2 separate regions of the Homo sapiens genome follow, and region 2 is linked to region 1. The links are contacts of gene promoters, found by promoter capture Hi-C in blood cells and fetal thymus (Javierre and others, 2016). All regions are on one chromosome and are shown on one strand. The core of a region is centred on a gene start or on the middle of the fragment in contact, and the rest is flanking DNA. Distances in the headings are between cores, read along the strand shown. Region 1 holds the start of IFFO1 (intermediate filament family orphan 1). Region 2 holds the start of RBP5 (retinol binding protein 5).

The links. Contacts are between HindIII fragments. The CHiCAGO score rates a contact against its expected background, and 5 or more counts as called.
Region 2: a contact is called between the fragment with the promoter of RBP5 here and the fragment with the promoter of IFFO1 in region 1, in 6 of 17 cell types (non-activated CD4 T cells, activated CD4 T cells, naive B cells and 3 more). The highest score is 9.1, in non-activated CD4 T cells.

What each region holds. Positions count from the first base shown.
Region 1 is chr12:6,554,154-6,557,954 of GRCh38, forward strand. IFFO1 (intermediate filament family orphan 1) reads right to left here and starts at 1,889. Exons shown (of 10, transcript NM_001193457.2): 1 at 1,104-1,889. The coding sequence starts at 1,876. NOP2 (NOP2 nucleolar protein) reads right to left here. Exons shown (of 16, transcript NM_001258308.2): 16 at 2,718-3,489. The coding sequence ends at 2,840. RefSeq lists enhancers at 1-365, 366-866 and silencers at 1,327-1,506, 1,617-1,856, 1,907-2,066. The HindIII fragment of the contact is 7,963 bases long and covers 1-3,262 here.
Region 2 is chr12:7,126,847-7,130,647 of GRCh38, forward strand. It overlaps RBP5 (retinol binding protein 5), which reads right to left and starts at 2,043. Exons shown (of 4, transcript NM_031491.4): 1 at 1,857-2,043; 2 at 1,394-1,572. The coding sequence starts at 1,929. It overlaps CLSTN3 (calsyntenin 3), which reads left to right and starts at 3,525. Exons shown (of 18, transcript NM_014718.4): 1 at 3,525-3,801. RefSeq lists a silencer at 3,282-3,381. The HindIII fragment of the contact is 14,463 bases long and covers 1-3,801 here.

The DNA of each region.
Region 1 (3,801 bases), core at 639-3,138:
TCGCCCCTAGACCCAGCGGTCATTTCCTAGAACATTCGGCCAATCCTCACCCAGTGCTGAATCTCCGCCACACTGGGCTGCATAGGTAGTTCCCAGGCCCGCCCACAAGGGGTCATAATAGCTGAGATGAGAGGGGAGGCCGCCAAACCAAAGCCTGTCAGTCACCCGCTCCCTCCTCAAGGCTTGGGTTGGAGTCTGCAAGACACTACCTCTGCTCTCACTCCTGTCCTATCGGCTTGGTTATCAGCCATCTAAGGAATCCACTTGGTATACAGCCAGCACTCCTGGCATCACATCCCTTTCCCTTGCCCCTTGGGGCCGGGCTCCTCTCAGACAGCCAAATCTTCATCCACAGAATGCACCGGGCCCGCCCCGCGGCCTCGCGGTCCTAGGGAGGGCCCATATCCCAGCTTCTCCCTGCTCAGTCCCCTGCTGGCTCTCCACTCTCCCTCCCCACTGGCGCTTTATACTGCCAAGATTCCCCTGTCAGCCCTGCTCTCCACCCTCACCCTAGTGAATTCCCTTCACTCTTTCTTTTCCCAGTTTGTTGACCTACTCAAGCAATGGCTTGAGGTCCCGGAGCTTTTCCTATGAAACCACAGCAGGTACCTGGTTTCCATCAATATTCTTTGGGAAACCTTGGGGTGTGAAAGAATCACTCGTTGCAAGGTACAGCCCCTCCCTCACCAGCCCCTTCCAGTTTCACTCAATTTAGTCTCCCAAATTTACGCTATATCCTTGCCTCCTACTTTTGAAGTTTATATCCCTAACCTGCCCCAGGGCTGAGACCGGTAGGGCAGAGCCCCAGTCCCTTTCACACCGCACAAAACCCGCAGTTAAGCCTGGATGGCAGAGACAAGCCGGAAAAGTAGGAATCCCCCCGTGTTCCGCTCCCAGCGTCCTTCTTCCTGTCACGAGCAGGGCTTCTGCATTCTCTGCGGATTCTAGTCTCCCTGCATCCAATTGCTTCCAAGCTCCTCATTACACAGCACAAACTTTACTCTCATTCTTTTCACCCCTGATTCTTCGGAACCCACACCAACTCGCGGCCCGTTGTGAGTGGTATGACACAGAGAGACCTGTCCCCCTTTCCCAATCCCTACCTCCGCTTGTACTCGTCCCGCTCCCGCTTCACTTTGGCCAGCACGTTGTAGAGAGCGCGGATCTCGGGCGTGATGGTGTCGATCTGGACGCCCACCCCATCCGGGTGCACCCACGACAAGCCAGGCCCTTGCACCAGAGTGGGCTCCAGTCCCGGCCCGAGCCGGCGGGCGTGCGAGAACGACCAGATGGTGCCGGGCATGAAGCGGGCCGACGAGGAATAGGTGGTGGAGGTGGAGGTGGAGGACGACGAGAGGCTGGCCGCGGAGGGCGCGAGGGGGCCGGCCGGGGAGCGCGCGGGCGAGCCCAGCACGCGCGCCGAAGGGCTGCAGACAGCGGCCGGCCGGGCGCCCAGCTGCAGCCCCAGGGGCCGGATGGGGCTGACGAAGCCGGTCTGCACTGCCTGGTCGCGACGACCCAGGCCCCGCCGGCCCTGCTTACCCTCCTCCAGCGCTTGCTGCAGTTGCTTCTCCAACAGCCGGTTCCGGCGCTCCAGCTCATGCACCTTGGCCAGGAAGCAGCGGAACCGGAGGTTCAGGGTCTTGAGCACGTTGATGTTGGAGCCCAGGTCATTGCGGAGGGCCATGGCGGCAGGCGGGGCCGGGCCCGGCCCGGGCGGCGAGTAGGCAGCAGGGCCGGCCGGCGAGAGAGGCGCCGGGGGCAAGTCTCCTCCCCCGGCGAAGTGGTCGCCTCCCAGTGAGTCCCCCAGTGGCCCGGCCAGGCCCTGCTGCTCCTGCTGCAGGAGGAAGAGGTTGGGGCCGAATAACGGATTCATGGCTGCGCCTTCTGCTGGGAGATGCAGACCGGTGCAGGAGCAGGGATGGAAGGCGAGCCAGAAGAGCCAATGCGGCGCCGGCGGGACAGAGCCGACCAATCAGGCGGCTCGGCAGCGGGGCAGAGGTCAGGGGGCGGGCCGAGGGGAAGCCAATGACAGGCTCCAATTGGAGGCCGGACCCTGGACCTTTCCGGGTCTGAGGCCGAGCCCTGTGATGAGGGGAGCCACCGCCTGGACTCCAGCCGGGGTGGCGTAAAGCCCAGGACCTCCAGTACCCCATGGGTTCTGGTGGCAAGCCCATCTCCCCTACACGACTTTTTTTTTTTTTGAGACCGAGTCTCACTGTCGCCCGGGCTGGAGTGCAGTGGCGCGATCTTGGCTCACTGCAACCTCAGCCTCCCAGGTTCAAGCGATTCTCCTGCTTCAGTCTCCCGAGTAGCTGGGATTACAGGCACCCGCCACCACACCCGGCTGATTTTTTGTATTTTTAGTAGAGACGAGGTTTCGCCATGTTAGCCAGGCTGGTCTCGAACACCTGACCTCAGGTGATCCACCCGCCTTGGCCTCCCAGAAAGTGCTGGGATTACAGGCATGAGCTAGTGTGCCCCGCCTTCCCCTACACTTCTATTGCCCTCCTCTCCCCGGAGTTCAATCACCCCTAGCTCTGACTCCAGGGCTTTCCCTTCCTGGGAAAACCCAAGGATGCAGGAGCCTAAAACTGACCTTATTTCTCAGTAGCACCCAACCATTCCCTCTCCTCAGAAGATCCCAGTCCCACCTCCCATCTTTACCCTTAAAGCGGCAAAGGCAGCACCCAGTTCCCTCAAAAATACTCAGTGGCCAGAGGTTTTAAAATGTGTATTAAATTTCATGGGTATGCACAGTAGAGAAGGCATCCTCACAGAGGCAAGAGTTCCAACCTGGTGACAATGGCAGTGAGCCACCCGTCTAGTTTTCAACCATCTAAGATAGCAGCAGCTGGCTGTTGCCCCTGGACTGAGATTTCTTCCTCTTTGCTGGTGGGGGGCGGCTGGAACGGATGGGAGACACAGTGGGAGGCTGAGGCCCCTTGGGGGTATCATTCTGTTTCTGGAAGGCAGCTTTCTCAAAAGGCTGCTCTGGCAACTGCTGCTTCTCAACCCCCTTGGCCCTTCCAAGGGGCTGATGATGGTCCTTAGGTTTCAGGGTGGCCTGAGTCTTGGATGGGGATAACACAGCCGGTGTTTGTGTGTCTGTGCCCTTGGGAGGGGCATTCTGCCTGAGGAAAGCAACTTTCTTGGAGGACTGTAATTTAGGTGATCGTTGCTTTAGCTTCCCAGTCACCTTTGGCTCCCTGATCCCTTCGGCTTTTCCAGCTGGCTGACTGCTATCCTGGAAGCTGGAGGAAGCTTGGGTCTTTGTGACAGAAGGTACAGTGGACAATTCTGAGTCTGCCCCTTTGGAGATGCCATTCAGCTTCTGGAAGGAGGCCTTCTTGGGATGTTGCTGTTTCTGCAGCTGCTGCTTTGTCTTTGCAGCCCCCTTGGCTTTCTTGGCTGGCTGGCTGCTGTTCTCAGACTTGGGGATGACCTGAGGCAAGTCTACATTTGTAGGTGTGGCTGTTTCAGAATTTCCTGGGGTTAAAATTAAACAGATGGTGTCAGAAAATGGGCCTTATCACCATATTTTAATATTCTCATATTAAAATATGAGAATTGCCATTTCCTGGGCAGGAGCTCCACACAATTAGGTCAGTGCCTAAGAGCAGATTACCTAAATTCCCATTACTTAATATAACTTGGCCTTTACTCAAGTCCTAGTTGAACCTTGTATTAAAAGATCACTGCCTATAGGCCAGGCGTGGTGGCTCACACCTGTAATTCCAGCACTTTGGGAGGCCAAGGCAAGTGGATTGCTTGAGGCCAGGAGTTCAAGACCAGCCTAGC
Region 2 (3,801 bases), core at 793-3,292, 570 kb after region 1:
CCAGACTAGAATGCAATGGCATGATCTTGGCTCACTGCAACCTCTGGCTCCCGGGTTCAAGTAATTCTCCTGCCTCAGCCTCCCAAGTAGCTGGGATTACAGGCATGCGCCACCATGCCCGGCTAATTTTTGTACTTTTGTATTTTTTTTTTTTTTTTTTTTTGAGATAGAATTTCGCTCTTGTTGCCCAGGCTGGAGTGCAGTGGTGCGATCTTGGCTCACTGCAACCTCTGCCTCCCAGGTTCAAGTGATTCTTCTGCCTCAGCCTCCTGAGTAGCTGGGATTACAGGCATGCGCCACCATGCCTGCCTAATTTTTTGTATTTTTAGTAGAGATGGGGTTTCTCCATGTTGGTCAGGCTGGTCTCGAACTCTTGACCTCAGGTGATCCGCCCGCCTTGGCCTCCCAAAGTACTGGGATTACAGGTGTGAGCCACTGCACCTGGCCTAATTTATGTATTTTTAGTAGAGATGAGGTTTCACCATGTTGGCCAGGCTGGTCTTGAACTCCTGGCCTCAAGTGATCTGCCTGCCTCAGCCTCCCAAAGTCTTGGGATTATGGGTGTGAGCCACCACGCCCAGCCTTTTCCCATATGCTTTAAATCATCTCTAGATTACTTATAATACCTAATGCAATGTACATGCTCTGTAAATAGTTGCTATACTGTATTGTTTTTTATTTGTATCATTTTGTATTGTTATTTTTTATTTTTATTTTTCCCAAATATTTTTCCATTTGCAGTTTGCTGAAGCTGTGGATGCAGAACCCATGAATATGGAGGGCCAACTGTATTTTGTAGGCAGTTGAAAACATTGCCCTGGAGCTCAGGAGATGGCTCTGGCTGGAGAATTCATGCCAAGGGCAGCCTATAGATGGAAGCAGAAGGCATGGGTGTAGATGATTTAGCCTATGGATAGTGGGCAGACAAAAGGGAGAAGACATTAAGAACAAAACTCTGCGGAGAAAACTCCAGTTTAAAGGATTAATAGGAGGACTAGGATCTGCAAAGGAGGCTAAGAAGGAATATGTAAGAAGTAGAAAGAAATGCAGGAGAGTGAAGTTATTGATGCTAAAGTAAAAGGGACTCTGGGTGACCAACAGTGTCACAGGCTGGAGGGTGGGCAAATGTTTGCTCTTCGGTCTGGGTTGGCCTGTTCTTTGCCCTTTGGGCTGGTGATAAGAGGGGGCAGGGAAGAAGTGGGAGAGAGACAGGGAGCACCAGGACCTGTTAGTTCTGGAGACTGGTATCCTGGGGACTGCATTCCCTGCTGTGGTGACCATTCCCCTCCTCCCCGCTGCTCTGGCTGGGGAAGGTCACTTTGTTTTGCCCCATGTTGTTAGGAGTCTCCTGTGATGCCTCCTTCCGGCCACCGCCCAGCCAGGGGAAATGTACCTGGCATTTTCGTCCGTCCACGCTCCTGAGGTCCTCCTCAAACTCCACTCCCACATCAAACTGCACAGTGTAGTTTCGGAAGGTGCTGAGCGTCCTCACCGTCATGTGGTTGCCCTGGTGTTCGATCTCCTTGTCCGGCTTCAGCAGCAGCGCGATCTTCCGCACAGCCAAGCTGATGTCTGTGGGGGCTGCCTGTTAGTAGGGGTGCTGCTAGCCAGCCAGGAGCTCCTCTGCCTGCAGCAGCCCCTCAGGGCTGTGAGTTTCCCTTCTTTGGGTCTGGGACTGTGGATTCACCCCCTCCTACCAATGCCTGGTTAGAAATGGATCCCAGGTCTGGTGCCAGCCGCCTGAGCCTTTCCACAGTGTCCAACCCCGGGCATTCCCTCTTCTCCATGGGACCAAGAAGCAGGAAGGAAGAGGGGAGAAAGGGAGTGACAGGGGTCTGGGAGGGCGAGGCCATTACTTAGGGCTTGCAGGTAGTCCTCCATGTTCTTCTGCGAGACAAAGCGGTAGTAGCCAGTGAGGTTGGGAGGCATTGTGTGGATGAAGGTTTCAGGAGAATGCAGGAGACAGGGTGAGGAAGGAGGGGGTGTTGTCTGGCAGGTGAGGCTGAGAGATTCCAGCCAGCTCCACACACAGAGACAGGATGTGTAATGGCCGGGTTACCAGGGCTTTTTATAAGGCTGGGGCCCTGTTGCAATAAGAGTCCCTACCAGACTTCTTCCCTCCCCGCATGGTGAGTTTGGGGGTGGTGTCTCCAGCCTGAAGGAGGGGCAGGGATTTGGCAAAGTTGCGCCTGACCTTGGCTTTTCCTGAGGAAGGAACCTGGAGCAGGATCCTTCCTGAGGAAGGAACCTGGAGCAGGATCTGGGGCTGTCAGTCATCCAAAACTCAGCCATCCAAAGGTCAGTGTTGGCCTCCACCTCATTTCTGGCAGGCTTGGGAACCGTCCCAGGGCCTGAGGGGCAGTCTTTCCTGGGAGACACCTGAGGCTGGTCTGGCTGTGTGAGGTGGAGATGAGTTCCAACAATATCCTGAGATCCTGGGACTGAGTGATGTTGGAAGATGTGAGGGGAGGGGGTGAGGATGGCCAGCTGCCACCATGAAGAGCACCCTGTAGGCCTGGCTCTCAGAGCTCCCTCAGGTAGTGTGCTCAACTGGGACCCCAAAGTGGCATTCCAGACTCTTGGTCCTAAAGAGCCATTAGGAGGGAGGTGGAGCCCGAGGGGTGCTGAGTTCAAAGTCCGGAACAGACAGCCTGAGAGGAGTTTGTTGGCTATTCTGGAGAATTTTATTCTTTTTGGCTTGGGACCCAGGGGGTTTTCTCTCCCTCTGAGTCATCGATGAGACCGTAACCCCCAGTCCCCAGCCCTAGGACAGCCCATGCTTTCCAGATGTATTTCTGTGAAGGTGGGGTGGAGGCGCCTAAATAATATTGTGCCCCGCCCCCAGCTGCCCAATTCTCTCTCGAACCTGCCATCGTCCCGGGCTTCAGAATCCACTGGGCTTGGTTCATCATGGTTTAAGGTGAAATTCGGGGCGAAGGAGGCAGGACAGGTAGGCAGGAGGAGGCGGCCGGTCCCGACAGGTGCGTGCGCGAGGGGTGCACGACGTCCTGCCCCTCCTTGGGTCCCAGAGCCTCGATACCGCCCTGCGGACCGCCCTGTGGCTTCCTCGCAGCCCTGGGCTACAAATGCCAGGATTTCTCAGGCTCAGACTGAGGGTTTTACTTCACCCTTCCCAGAGGGCACGCAGCACGGATCTGTGGATGGAAGGGGCTGTGGAAACAGGTTATGGCAGAGTTGGGGGGCGGGGTGACGCGGTGCCACCCCTCCTGGCCGCCCTCAGGTCCCGCTGACGTCTCTCTTCCCCACCCCCTGGCTTCTGGCTTCTTTCTCCCCACGTCCCTCTTCTTTCCCACCCCCTCCGTGGCTCTCCAGCTTCCTCCCCAGCCCCCGCAGTTCCTCGGCTCCCCCAAAATTGCAGCCAGGGGAAGGAGCCTTGAAACTCTCCAGCCCCGACGCCCCAGTCTCATTGGCTCCCTCCCCCGCTGCAGCACCTGGTCCCCCCCCCTCCCAGTCACCTGATTGGCCGGCGGCCCCATCAATCGTTGCCCGGCTGTGCTGACGTCATCCTGCAGTAGCGGGGTTGGGGTGGGAGTGAGAGAGTGAGGACGCTGGGCTGGGGGAAACGGGAAGCCGCTGCAAGTCCACCGCCTCAGCTACCCAGATTGGGATCTGCCCAGGCCCGCTTTATGGACTAGTGTGGGCGGCAGGCTCCTTTCCGTCCCTGCCCTGCTGTACCCCGCTCCTTGGAGACCCCCTGTATCCCTCCCGCAAGGTGGAATCCGCAGGCTGGAGGCTCCCAGGGGAGGCAAACGCCTGGCCCTGCCCTGCCCCACGCCGCAC